5 separate regions of the Homo sapiens genome follow, and all the other regions are linked to region 2. Evidence: promoter capture Hi-C in 16 types of primary human blood cells and fetal thymus (Javierre and others, 2016). All regions are on one chromosome and are shown on one strand. Each heading gives the region's core, a stretch centred on a gene start or on the middle of the fragment in contact. The rest is flanking DNA. Distances are from core to core; before and after follow the strand shown.

The links. The method cuts DNA at HindIII sites, captures the fragments that hold promoters and counts their contacts. A CHiCAGO score of 5 or more calls a contact.
Region 1: a contact is called between a fragment that was not itself captured here and the fragment with the promoter of FBXL17 in region 2, in 1 of 17 cell types (total B cells). The highest score is 5.2, in total B cells.
Region 3: a fragment that was not itself captured here is called in contact with the fragment with the promoter of FBXL17 in region 2 in 1 of 17 cell types (total B cells); the score reaches 8.4 in total B cells.
Region 4: a contact is called between a fragment that was not itself captured here and the fragment with the promoter of FBXL17 in region 2, in 1 of 17 cell types (naive CD4 T cells). The highest score is 6.5, in naive CD4 T cells.
Region 5: a fragment that was not itself captured here is called in contact with the fragment with the promoter of FBXL17 in region 2 in 1 of 17 cell types (monocytes); the score reaches 5.3 in monocytes.

The regions. Positions count from the first base shown.
Region 1 is chr5:109,498,569-109,501,268 of GRCh38, reverse strand. All of the region lies in intron 4 of LOC105379117 (a long non-coding RNA gene), which reads right to left. Among named protein-coding and RNA genes, the nearest start is that of PJA2, 90 kb to the right of the region's middle. The HindIII fragment of the contact is 1,476 bases long and covers 515-1,990 here.
Region 2 is chr5:108,380,664-108,383,363 of GRCh38, reverse strand. It overlaps FBXL17 (F-box and leucine rich repeat protein 17), which reads left to right and starts at 1,266. Exons shown (of 9, transcript NM_001163315.3): 1 at 1,266-2,665. The coding sequence starts at 1,673. RefSeq lists an enhancer at 896-1,015 and silencers at 1,116-1,365, 1,566-2,315, 2,336-2,415. The HindIII fragment of the contact is 13,285 bases long and covers 1-2,700 here.
Region 3 is chr5:109,700,261-109,702,960 of GRCh38, reverse strand. All of the region lies in intron 1 of MAN2A1 (mannosidase alpha class 2A member 1), which reads right to left. Among named protein-coding and RNA genes, the nearest start is that of MAN2A1-DT, 11 kb to the right of the region's middle. The HindIII fragment of the contact is 492 bases long and covers 1,205-1,696 here.
Region 4 is chr5:109,383,270-109,385,969 of GRCh38, reverse strand. PJA2 (praja ring finger ubiquitin ligase 2) reads left to right here. Exons shown (of 10, transcript NM_014819.5): 2 at 2,450-2,567. The coding sequence starts at 2,537. Among named protein-coding and RNA genes, the nearest start is that of PJA2, 25 kb to the left of the region's middle. The HindIII fragment of the contact is 2,699 bases long and covers 14-2,700 here.
Region 5 is chr5:109,476,001-109,478,700 of GRCh38, reverse strand. The region is part of intron 4 of LOC105379117 (a long non-coding RNA gene); the gene reads right to left. Among named protein-coding and RNA genes, the nearest start is that of PJA2, 67 kb to the right of the region's middle. The HindIII fragment of the contact is 5,589 bases long and covers 1-2,700 here.

The DNA of each region.
Region 1 (2,700 bases), core at 3-2,502, 1.1 Mb before region 2:
GAAGTGTGTGAGACAAGAGGGTTTCTGGTCTGAAAGCAAAAACATAAAATCGAATGTGTGAGCACTATATTGAAAACTGGAGGATTAAGTTGAATGTACCCATCTTCCTCCACTCAGCTCCCTATATGCTGGGTAGCCAGGCTTTTACCATCATCCAGAGAAAAGATTGACAGTCTCTGGAAAATAATACTAACCCAAAAAGAAAGTTCTAAAGATCTAACATCAGAAGTTTCTCAAGTAAATAGCCCAAGATCACCCCCACAATGAAATTCACAATCCATAAGGCCTATTTATGCAAAGTAGCCAGTGGGTATATTTCAAAATAACGAGAGGAGTGGGATTGGAACGTTCCTAACACAAATAAATGATCAATGTTTGAGGTGATGGATATCCCAATTACTCTAATTTGATCATTACACATTGTATGCTTGTATCAAAATTTCACGTGCCCTATAAAGATGTACAACTATTACGTATTCCTAAAAATCAAAAATAAAAATAAATCAAAGAAGCTTGCTTAGAGAAAAAATTGGCCAGTGAGCTAGAAAATACTATAAAATATAAACAGACAATATGTGTCAAATAAAAAATATATATAATGCATGTATAATTATATATAAAATACTGTAAAATATGAGAAGACAGCCAAGGCTTATTAGGCATTAGAAGCCAACATATAACTTGAAAGATAAAAACCAAAACAAATAGATTGAAAGCAACATAGAAAACAGAGAGTATACAGGAAAAAGAAACCTAAAAATAAAAACAAAACAGCATCAATCTACAGAGAGATAAGAGAAGATCATGCAAACAAAAACAAGAATAGGCTACTATAATAAGGAAATACTCAGATAACAAAGAGCTTTTACAAAATAAAAATGCTACAGTTAAAAACGAAAACTCAGTAGAAAACTTCTCAGGAAGCATCCAGAGAGAAGATTTAGAAAATTGTCGAAGAGTGAGAAGTGGAATAGTGATTAAAGGCATGAAAAAATGGAAGCACATGACAACAATTTTAACTCCAGGAAAAACAAAATGTTGTGCAGGAAAGGAATAGTGTTCAGAGTTTACTACAGGTCTCCACTATAAACAGAATTTACATTGTCATAATATATTGATATGTAATATTAATTTATCAAAAATTATAATATAGCTCTACTGGAGGAAGAGAATGAGAAGACTACATACGTGGAGAAGACTAGGGAAATGGAAAAAAAGGGAGCTAGATAGAGTCTCATCTTACATAGCTGGAAGCCAGTTAACAATGCCAGAAACTGAAAAATCAGCAAGAATGCTACTTGGAGTCGTGAAGCCTACATGACAATATAGTCAGTAAAAAAGATCAAAGTGATTGCTTAGGGGAAGAACAAAAACTTCAGGAGGGGTGAGGCAATACTGTGTTTCATAGCAAACGTTGTGGACAACTGGATCTTTAGAGGGTATGATTAACCTTAACAAAAATTAAAATTAAAAGAAAAAAGGATGAGGCAAGGATGAAGACAGTGACAAGCCTCAGTGGAACAGCACTCACAGGGAAGAGGAGATCTGGGTTGGTGATGGTTGGTAAAACTCTTGTCTGTCTCCAGGACCAGTATGATGCATGGCAGGAGAGAAGTGGATGCTCACATGGTGAGCAGAGATACCTGACTTAGTACAAGCCAACAGTGGGATTTAAGGATCCCTGGCTTCCAGCTGTGTCTCGTTTGTTAATTCCTGGCTCTGCCTCTGAATAGATGGATAACCTTGGACAATCTCTGTGTACCCTGACAGCCTGGATGTTTCTCATCCGTCTCATATTCTTCACAGCTGGCAGCAGAGAGCTTTGTAGAGAGTAAGTACACCGATGGTTCCTTATAGATTATTTGGATTGCTATCTTCTTTGGGAAAATGTCCCCTAAATGTAAATAAAAGGATAAAATAAATTTGTATAGAAAAACCTATTTGGAGAATGACAAAACATAGAAAGTTTCAATAATCATCCTATGAAGCTTAATACGTAATAATCTAAACATGGTAAAGCATTTTTGAAATTTCTATGTTGTAATATACTTCAAAAGCCCAACCATTTTTTAACAATTTGTGACTTTTTGAATTATAAAATATACACACTTATTATTAAAAACTTTGGAAAATACAGAAACACATACAGAATTAATGTTGATTCCACCACACAAAAATAATTATTAAAATGTTTAGGTATAAACTTTATCTCATTTACCTTTATATGCACATATGTTTTACAAATTTGTAAATATACTATAAATATTCTATAACCTGATTTTTCAATTAATATAAATACTTCTCCTTATCATTAAATGTTATTCTTACTACCATTTCAATGGCTTCACAATGTTCAAGATATATGATAATTTATTGCCGGTTATATCTCAATACTTTCCATGGTTTGCTTTTATAAATAACACAGTAGCTGAGTAAACTTGTACATAAATTTTTGCACATATCTGTTTATTTTGATGGAAAAAATTCCCACTCGTAGAATTTCTGGAAAAAAGAGAATGTATATTTTTTAAAACTCTTGATATTTAACTACCAAAATATGTCTCCAGTTGACACATTCATCCACAGCCTGCATTTAATACTTTTTAAAATGAACAAATAATTGTACACATTTATGAGACACAACGTGATGTTTTGATATATGTATACATTGTGGAATGATTAAATCAAATTCATTAACAT
Region 2 (2,700 bases), core at 17-2,516:
TCTTCTCCAAGCCACTGGGCCTTGAATATTGCAATACTTCTTCCTCAGTCAGCTCTCTCAAGTTATCCTTAGCAGATTTTTTTTTAAACACCTGCCACTTCTCTTCCACCCTTCAGCAGGTAACCAAGCTCTATCTGAAGCAAAACAGAAACCAACAGAAAGGAACTCTTTCACCTTCCTGCTAGAAACATCCACCTCTCTGTATCCGTCCTTTATCTACCTTTCCTCATTCTCTGTAATCACAATGAAGAAAGTATCCTTCCTAAAGCACTCTCCATTCCACCTTCTCCTCTTATTTCTCTCACTAGAGTGGCTCATTCCCATGGTATTTGCCTCCTCTAATTTTTCGCTTGTGAAAGCTAACCTCTCCGCACCAGGTACCGCTCTAGCAGCTGCCCTAGCTCTTTAGCCTCGATATAGTCAAACCTTCTAAAGGACTGCCTGCATAGCTGTTTCCTCTTTCTCATCTGGATCACCAACGTTTGTCATATAGCAGGCACTGCACCGTCATGTTTAAAATATACAACAGACGGCTAGACAGGATTCCGAGGGTGTAGACAATAAAGTGATCTACAGTTTGTAGCCTGGGTGTTGAATGGCTCACTGGGTGGGGAAGCTGTTATCTTTCTGCTGTGCACAGGTAATTTGATATATGCTTTCATTCTGAAATAAAGTTGTGGAAAGGCAGTAGTACGCAACAATTAAGAAAACACAAGTGGGTAAACAGTGGTGCCGCACAACCAATCAACCCCTCACATGACTTCGGTGCGCATCACCCAGGGGCCGCATCTGCCACTCTGCCCGAAGCGCGGTCAGCGCCCACACTGGCCCTTCCGGCGGAACCCGCCTCGCGGCTTCGAAGTGGCCTCGGTTTCCGAGTCAGGGGTGGTGACAGGGGTGGAAGGTGAGGGGAAGAGCCCAGCGGCTCCCGGCCAATGGCAGCTCTTGAACTTACACCTCGAGACGTCAGCGCGGCTGTGTAAACGGATGTCACACAGCTGGCTCGGAAGTGTCTCCTCCCGCCTCAGAAACGCGGCGCACGCCCAGCAGCTTCGGAAAAACCTTAGGCGGTGGGAGGGAGGGGCGTGCGCCGCACCCCGCAAGCCCAGAGCTCCGTGCCCTAGCCGGCCGGCTTCTTCCCGTAGTGCCGGTGTGACGGCCGTCCCGGGTGAGCAGCCGGGTGCCGGCGTCCCCGCCACGAGCGCGCCACCGCAACTGGCTCCGCCCCCTGCCGGAACGGGCCGCGCGCTCCTGCGGCTCCGAGCAGAGTCGCGGGTGCGCGCGCCGGCGGCGGATCCGCAGTTAAAATGGTCCGAGCGGGACCCGGCCTTTCCCCGGCCGCTCCGCTGACTGACTGAGCCGGCTGGCCGGGCCCGGACTGGTCGCCTAGCCGGCAGGCTCGCTCGCTCCCTCCCTCGCGTCCCCAAAGCTCGCGCCCATCGTTCTCCCGGCTTCCCTGGGCAAAGCATGTAGCCCCCGTCGGGCACTCCGGCGGCCCGCAGCTGACGCCCACCCCCCACCGTCGCGTGTGTGCCCGTGTGTGCGTGTGTGTGCGCAGGAAGGGCGACCCCTCCGGGGGCCGAGCCAGCGAGCGGCCTGCCCCGCTGCCGGGAGCCCGCCTCTCTGGGTCTCCCTCCCTCCCGTCCCGGTCCCCCTCCTCGGGGCCTTCTATATGGGCCACCTTCTCTCGAAGGAGCCGCGTAACCGCCCGAGCCAGAAGAGGCCTCGCTGTTGCAGTTGGTGCCGCCGCCGGCGCCCTCTCCTCAGGCTGCCCCGCCGGACCCCAGCCAAGGTGCCCCCTCAGCCGGCGGCGCCCCGGAGCCGGGACTGCTTCTTCCGCGGGCCCTGCATGCTCTGCTTCATCGTGCACAGTCCCGGCGCGCCCGCCCCCGCCGGCCCAGAGGAGGAGCCGCCGCTCTCGCCGCCGCCGCGGGACGGGGCCTACGCTGCCGCCTCCTCCTCTCAGCACCTGGCGCGGCGCTACGCGGCCCTGGCCGCCGAGGACTGCGCCGCTGCTGCCCGCCGCTTCCTGCTATCCTCGGCCGCCGCCGCCGCCGCCGCTGCCGCCTCGGCTTCGTCGCCCGCCTCCTGCTGCAAAGAGTTGGGGCTGGCTGCGGCCGCCGCCTGGGAGCAGCAGGGCCGAAGTCTCTTCCTGGCCAGCTTGGGGCCGGTGCGCTTCCTGGGGCCGCCCGCCGCCGTGCAGCTCTTCCGGGGGCCGACACCGTCACCGGCCGAGCTCCCTACGCCCCCCGAAATGGTGTGCAAGCGGAAGGGGGCCGGGGTCCCCGCCTGCACCCCCTGCAAGCAGCCCCGCTGCGGCGGCGGGGGCTGCGGCGGCGGCGGCGGCGGCGGTGGCGGGGGAGGGCCTGCGGGGGGAGGCGCTTCGCCGCCCCGGCCCCCCGACGCCGGCTGCTGCCAGGCCCCGGAGCAGCCCCCGCAGCCGCTCTGCCCTCCGCCCTCTTCTCCCACCTCCGAAGGTGCCCCCACCGAAGCTGGCGGGGACGCTGTCCGAGCCGGGGGCACCGCCCCCTTGTCCGCCCAGCAGCAGCATGAATGTGGCGACGCGGACTGTCGGGAGTCCCCCGAAAACCCCTGCGACTGTCACAGGGAGCCGCCCCCCGAAACCCCAGACATCAACCAGCTGCCGCCGTCCATCCTGCTCAAGGTGGGTCTGGGCGAGAGGCGCAGGGATGCTCGCTT
Region 3 (2,700 bases), core at 201-2,700, 1.3 Mb before region 2:
ATAAATTCTGAATTTCCAAACTACTCTTTATACAAGCACTACAGACTCTAAAGTTTTACAAATTCTTTCCTATTGCCTTTCTTTATAAAAATCCATCTGTAACAACTGGTCTACAAGGGCAAGGTGAGACACAGAAGCAACAAATGCAGTAGTAAGACATAACATAATACATAAAAATACATTAATAGCAAACTTCTAAATATCATACCATTGGTTATCAAAGATGAGTTAAGGATACAAATTTCTGGAGTTCTTCTCAAATCTCTTTTGTTTAAAACAATTATTGGTTGGATCTTCTACCTAAAAGTAGCAAGAAATATCCTATACATCAAGTGTTGTTATTTGACCCTACAAATTTTCCAGAGGTAGCCCAGGGTCAAAGACAGTTTTTACTTCTCCAGTTCATGGGGTCACCTACCAGCCCAACAGAAGGGAGTTTTTCTTTACTATCAACAAGAGGCAGTTTGGAGGGTATTCTCAGAAATCTGTCTGACTTTCAGAACAACTTTCAAACTTCAGCCCCCTATTTGGGGTGTTGCATTTTGATCCTTAATAAATCTCTCTCTCCCTCTCCACCACCGGGCTGCCCATCCTCCCTACACACACAGACACACACACACACACACACACACACACACACACACAATTTATGTTCTGTCTTAACCCAGAAAAAAAATAATTTAGTCTTATCATTTGTGCCAAAGATGAGAAGGGTCTTTTTTAAACTCTACTAAAACGCTTCTTTGAAATCCTTCCTTCTGATCATCTTATCTTTTCTTAGGTAAGCTGATCCATGAGCTGCTGGTTTCTGACAATTTGAACACAAGCTGCTTTATTTCATTAACATCTGCTACAAAATATTCTTAATGTAAGATGTGCAGCTTTTGGTTATCAGAAATGTACTTGGCCCTGCCCTCACTAAGCACAGTCCCCAAGTGAGCTCATTCATTCTCGGCTATGCTGATGACTACCAGATCAGCATCTCCCTTCCCTGATCTCTCACTGGCTTTCCAGCCCACTTGATTATTTCCACTAACATCCACGTCATCATAAATGAAATGAACTTGACTTTCCAGATCAGCTTGTCCCTATCTCCTTCTGCAAATAGTACAACCAGTCTCCAACACCCCAATGGAAAAAGGTAGGAGAAATTTTCTGATTCAAGCCACTCATCATTACCCTTGATCAAACCTGTTAAAAAGCTTTGGTCTTTCTCTTTACAAAATGTCTCCACATTTTTCATCCTCCCGATTCTAGCCAATTCAATACTGGTACAGGGATTTACTGCCTTATGTCTATATTACCTCAAACAGATTCTCAGCTGCCTTCCTACTTGAATCTTCCTACACACAGCTACCAGAATAATCTAGATTGAATATTCTCTTAGCTCCTTTCCAGGTCTGAAATTTTCTACAAAATTAATTCTCTCACACTGCTTTTCTCAAGCAGCTTCCTGGTATATTCAATAACTTGGAGTGATTCACTACCATCTAACTCATAACTCTTCAGACAAACTCTCAGGGCAATTTGCAATCTGATCCTGAACTACCTACAGTGTTTTCCCAACTACTCTTCACAGGCACCAAAGATTCTAAATCAAGCCAATCTCCTCCAGGATTCAAAGCCTTCATAAGCACCGTACTTTACACTAGCAATTTTCTTTCTCCCTTCAAAGTATCGTCCCATAGGGAAAGCTTAGCTTCTTTACCCTCTCCTTTAGTCAACTTAAGCCAGGCCATCACCAAAACTTGTTTCTGTTTTTGAGTTCTCTTTAAGGCCTTTGTCTTTATATCAGGAATGTAAAATAATATCATTGACTCTTGTTTTAGTCTTAGCTCCTGTATTCCCAGAACCTAGAACAGTGCCTGCTACATAATAGGTATGCTACAAATCTCTGTCCATTGGTAACAACTAGCATTTACTGAGCACTTACTATATGCCAGGCAACATTCTAACCTCTTTAACTTCTAATGAATAATAGCACTTAACTGGCTCTAATAGTTTCACAAACGGCAGTTTTGTTTCCCTAAATAACTAAAAAGTTCTTTCAAAACAAGTAACATATGTCTACCACAATTTCCATATTACCTAACCCAGTAAATTTTCAAATATATGTTGGATATGGGTATAGTACAGTGGAAGGCCAGTGAATTATAAGTCAGGATGCATGTCCCAGGTATCCTGTGACTGGGCAAATTGCTGAGGTCTAGTTTATGTGTGACTCGGTGCCCTTATCTGAAAAATCAAAGACTAAAAATTACCTGACCTGGAAGGACCCAGCCTACTCTACAATTCTGTGCCTGAATTTTTCATGACTTTTCTGGAATGCTGGTGACTGTTAAAAGAATGACTGCTTCACTGGATTCTAAAAACACCAATTCAGGACTTTATGTAGAAAATGATTCTAAGAATGATTCACATTCTCAGTCTTCAATGTTCCGATGCTCTACAGGTAAAATGTTACCACCAAGGCCAGGACCCATAAATGCCACATTCCTCTACATCTGTGGTATGAAGAAACAGAAGGGAACTGCTGCAAAGTACATCTTCAGCCCCGAAGTCCTCACCCTGAAGGGAAAGGCTTCTCATCACAAAGGAAACAAAGCACTATCAGTTCTAGAAGAAGCATGGCAGTTTGAGGAAACAGTAATTGTGAACGACCAAAAAAAAAAAAAAAAACCGGCAAAACTTCATACTTTC
Region 4 (2,700 bases), core at 114-2,613, 1.0 Mb before region 2:
CTTAACAGAAGCTTTATTTCATGCACACAATTATTAAAAGTATTGTATAAAATTACTTTCAGACTGTGTGTGTAAGATGTGTAGGAAACAAGTGAATTTTCTGTTTAGACTTGGATGTCATCCCCACGATATCTCATTATGTATATGCAAATATTCAAAGATTTGAAAAAATCCCAAATCCGCACTTCTGGTTCCAAGCATTTTGGAAAAGGGATACTCAATCTCTGCTTCTTTTTCCCTGGCCTCTTCATATTTGATTTTCTCAGGGCTTAACTTCACTTCTCCATGTACACCTAGAGATCTCATCCAAGTTCATACCTGTTTTGGTATAATCTATACACTGACAACTCCCAAATTATACTAACAGCTCATAATTCTTCAGTCAACACCAGACTCCTATTTAATATTTCCATTTGAATGTCTAATAGATATCTCAAACTTAACTCATCCAAAACTGAACTGAATATATTTTCTTCAAATCTGGCTCTTCCACAATTTTTCCTACATTAATTGAAATTTACTCCATTTTTCCCATTGCCCAGCCTGTAAAACCTGGAGTCAACCTCGACCTTCTTTCATATCCTATATTAGTAAATTTTGTTGATTGTATTTTTACAATATGTCCAGAATCTGGTCATTTCTTACCATCTTTATTTTAACCCTGGTCCAAACCACTATGATCTCTTACCAGTATTATTTTGATAGCTTTTTAACAGTGCTCCCTGCTTTAGACCTCATTCCTCTTCATGCTATTCAATACAGTAGCCAGAGCATTCTTCTTAAAACAGAAGTCAAATATCTCTTCTGTGGTCAGAACTTTGATGGTTTTCCATCTCAGAATAAAACGCACATTTCAGCCAGGCACTGTGGCTCATGCCTGTAATCCCAGCACTTTGGGTGGCCAAGGCAGGTGGATCACGTGGTCAGGAGTTTGAGACCAGCCTGACCAATATGGTGAAACCCTGTCTCTACTAAAAATACAAAAATTAGCCGGGCATGGTGGCACACGCCTACAGTCCCAGCTACTGGGAGGCTGAGGCAGGAGAATCACTTGAACCCGTGAGGTGGAAGTTGCAGTGAGCCGAGATCAAGCCCCTGCACTCCAGCCTGGGCGACAGAGCAAGACTCGCCCTCAAAAAAAAAAAAGTTAAAACACTGTTAATTAGCACCTATGTTTTTGCCAGTATGTTAAGATTATTATTATTTTTATATTCCTTTTCTCTTTAGCTGTTGCTAACAGCCTCTTTTGATTCAGATACTTTAAAGGATCATAACTTGTTACTGAATTTATAAATTATATGGGTGAATGTGGGTTTGTACTCTTACGTATGTTAATATATATCTGTCTGTGATTAGACAGGTAACATATAAATTAAACTCATTTGCAGAGCTATTGCATTAATGATGAGCAATTAGCAGTAGCTCAAGTGTTTAAATAAATAAGGTGTTTAAATAAAAACTTAACCAAACTTTCAAAAAAACCACAGGTTGCAACTTCTCAAATAGTACTTTTCAAATAGTAAATAAATGCATTAATTTCAAAACAGAAGTTCTTTTTGTATTTGTTCCATGATAAATTGTAGTTTTTCCTGATTGAAAATAGGTTCTTATTTGGGATTAAATTATCTGATCAACTGACTATTGCAAAGAATAAATACATCATTATTTACACACATTAATTATTGTTATAAGCCATTACACATTTTTAAAAAATGAAGTTTGTATTCTTACAGTTACCTTTTAGCAATTCCAGGGCTAAAGGAACTTTACTGCTTGACAGAGAAGCAATGATAGCACAGTGTAGTAGACTCCCAAATAGTTTGGTTACATACCTGAGTCAGTACTTCTGATATTTTTGTTTGTTTACTTACAAATTATGTATGTGTTGTTGTCATTGACAGTCTTAAGGATGATATATACTTAGGCAAGGTTTATCAAGAGCAGATGTAAATCTGTATTTCACATAGCCATTTTGGTATTTCTGAGAGTTTTTGATTGGCTTGTCAAATTGTGTTGTATTTTTCTTGTTTTTATTTATTTTTGGGACGGGATCTCACTTTGTCACCCAGGCCTGGAGTGCAGTGGCATGATCTCGGCTCACTGCAGCCTCCACCTCCTGGGCTCAAGCAATCCTCCCACCACAGCCTCCTGAGGGACTAGAGGTGTGCACCACCACGCCTGGCTAATTTTTGTATTTCTTGCAGAGACAGACTTTCACCATGTTGGCCAGGTTGTTCTCGAATTCCTGAGCTCAAACTGATTTGCTCGCCTTGGCCTGCCAAAGTGCTGTAATCTAAGGCGGATCACAGGCATTTGCCACCATGCTGGCTACATCACATTGTATTTTTCTAAGTTTTATTATAAGACTTCACTAGGAGGAGCAGAAGTATCAGTTTTGCTATTTTTGTGCTTTTATTAATATATTGTTCAATTCATTGTTTCTTTGTAGGAATCTTCTGCGGCTTGTCCATAGTGTGAATAAAAACTAAATCACATCTATAATTCTACTGAACTGGTCACACAGACGCTGCCATATATGTCACAGTACACTGAAAAGGAGCCAGCAGGTAAGGAAAGTCAGTTCTTCTACATTGAGTACTTCTTGTTTTTTCCTCTGGGTACCTTGAGTACCAGTAAGTGACATATGATCATCTGACCTGTGGTCTTACTAAAAGGCTGGTTTTGATCCATATATTGAAT
Region 5 (2,700 bases), core at 146-2,645, 1.1 Mb before region 2:
ACTTGGATATTTTAAACCATAGCTTTAAAACTGTAAGAAGAAAATGTAGAAATTTATTGTTTTGTCTCAGGATAAGGAAGAATTTATTAAATAAGACACCAAAAGCACAAAATAAAAAGTGATAAATTTTTCCATGTTAAAACTCCTGTGTATCAAAAGATACCACAAATAAGGAAAAAAAAGACAAACAGTGGACTATAAAGAAATTATTGGAAACTTAAGTATCAAATTAATGGTAGTTGTTATTTCCAGGGAAAGAAAACATAAAAAACTTTGTTTCATTTATTTTACAAAATAAATTGTGAAATAAATAGGCAAAATGTGCAATATGTTGAGATCTGATAAAGTTGCATAACAAGTATGCATTTTTATATATTTAAAAATCTTAAATAAGATTTTACTCCAATATTCAAGTTTTATTTTTAAAGAAATAAAAATGTATTCTGACATAGCAGTTCAGCCAGCTGTCCCTAATAGCCTTACAGTGGGTTTTTTTCTTTTACAGTCACTTTTACAATGCTATCTTATCTTTATATTTAGGGAGAAATTCTTGTCAAAAATAATAAAGTGAGTCCTTTTGGGTTTTTAAAAATGATTTCTTCTAACACCTTCTCACAGGGACTAGAATTTTCATTTTGGCTTTTCCATTTGAGAAACAGTGATACCTCTGGAGGCATGCAGACTATTAAAATCGTGTGTCCAATGTCCTATTAAATCATTGCAAGTTTTTTAAAAGTATAGTTACTATTATCTGTTTGGTTATCAGAGCCACTTATTTTGCAGCTACCCTGGGCCAGTCACAAAAAATAAATTATAATTCTACCCTTTGCACAGCAAAGCTGCAGCTCTGCTGGCCAGATTTTTTTGTATCATAGTTCTTTCTCTTTCATACACACTACCTGCTATTTTTATATAACAAATTTAGGGCTCCAATATGCAAATAATTATACTACATTATATACTAAGTATAATAGAAAAAAATCTTAGCCATAGCTCTCCAGGAACTTGAATCAAGCAATAAGAACTACTTTTCTCAAATGGTTATCAGTCTTCACCAAATAATGAAATAGAGATATTTTGCCTTTAGCTTCCCAAAAATGTTACTCCAGTTACCTGAAGTCATGGGAGAAAGTTTTAGGAATTCACTTTTATTTATGAGGAAAAAAAAACTGACATTTTTATTCCTTCATACTAACCTCACCCTAAGTCAACTATCCTCTGTGTCATTGTTCCTCAAAAACCATGAAATTTATATGTGTTTTAGTAAATCAAGGGAAAATTTTAAAACATAAAGGCTAACTCTATCTCCTATCTTAGAAATTTGTGAGAAAAAGAGGCAAATGTAAGAATCACTGAGGGAAAAGATGCTTGTATGAAAGAAAATTTTCTTTTCCTTTTAAAAATTGCTTTGAGGAATTATTCACTTGCTTGAGAAGTATATTGATTTCAGTTGTTCAACTGTGGCTGAGGTTTAGGAGAACATGAGATAGATCCTTTCCTGGTTTCTGGTGTACATGATATGTTAAGTTACCATTAATGACGAGTCAAATTTGCCATTTAGACATACTCTAAAGAGTTGCCTGTGGAATTATTTATATACAATCTTTTTCTGATTATCGTAGAAAATTTGGAAAACACAGTTTAATGTTTTCACTTAGCACTGCATTGTGAACAGAACATTTTAAATAGAAGTCAATGTTTAAAAGTATTCAGATTTGAAAATTGAACCAAATGGAAAAAAAATTAAGTAAAATAATATGTGCTCCAGTCATGTTTTACTGGAATGGCTAGATATAAGGTAATTAGTCTAAGAAATTATCTACTCAATTCTGTCTTGAAAGTACTTCTCAAAAACCATTTGTCTAAGTAAAATTATCTTACATTTAAAAGCATTTAATTGTTCTTGATGCAACACATTGTTTATTAAAAATTCACTGAGAGCCAAATTGTTCTTGCTCTTCCTGACGCCTCCAACTCTTTTTGTCATAGGATTGAGGAAAACAATTATCCAACTATAGAATCATAAACAAAGATAAGTCAGGGAACAATATATTAAATTCCATGTAAAAGTGCTTTTCCCCCAAGTTCCACTAGAACCATTATTTGTCTTGTACCCTGATCCAGTGGTTGGTTGCAGCATGCATTTTCAGTGTTCATTCACTCAAATGCTGGTTTGTACCGTTTCCATTTCCTGCAAGAGTACAGACAGTTCTTGTTTGTGTCCACAATGCATTCCTGGAAATTATAACATATAGGGATCAGTGGTAACACAGACCACTCCCCACTGCCACCTGCCAGGACCAGTGTTACAACTGAGGGTCACAGAGCTAAGTATTTGTTATAAAAACAAGTAAACTGTAGCTATTTCCAGCAAACTTGCCATAAAAACAAAGATTCGACAATGAGATACAGCCATAATAATTTTAAACGTAAAATTCATAATCCACATCTTATACAGTTGTCAAGAGGCTTACATCTACATTGATTATACAATGGACAAATATACTTATAGCACAGAAAAGAAATAAAATTCTGCTATAATACGTTGACCATAATAAATTTAATAAATTCAATCAGCTTAATTTTCTCTTTTCTTTTAGAATTTCAAGGGGTAGGGTAATTGGTGTTTTTTTGGCCCAGAGCTTTTTAAAAAGAATCCCAAGGTATTCCCAGTTGTTTCTTCTTTTTTTTTTTTTTTTT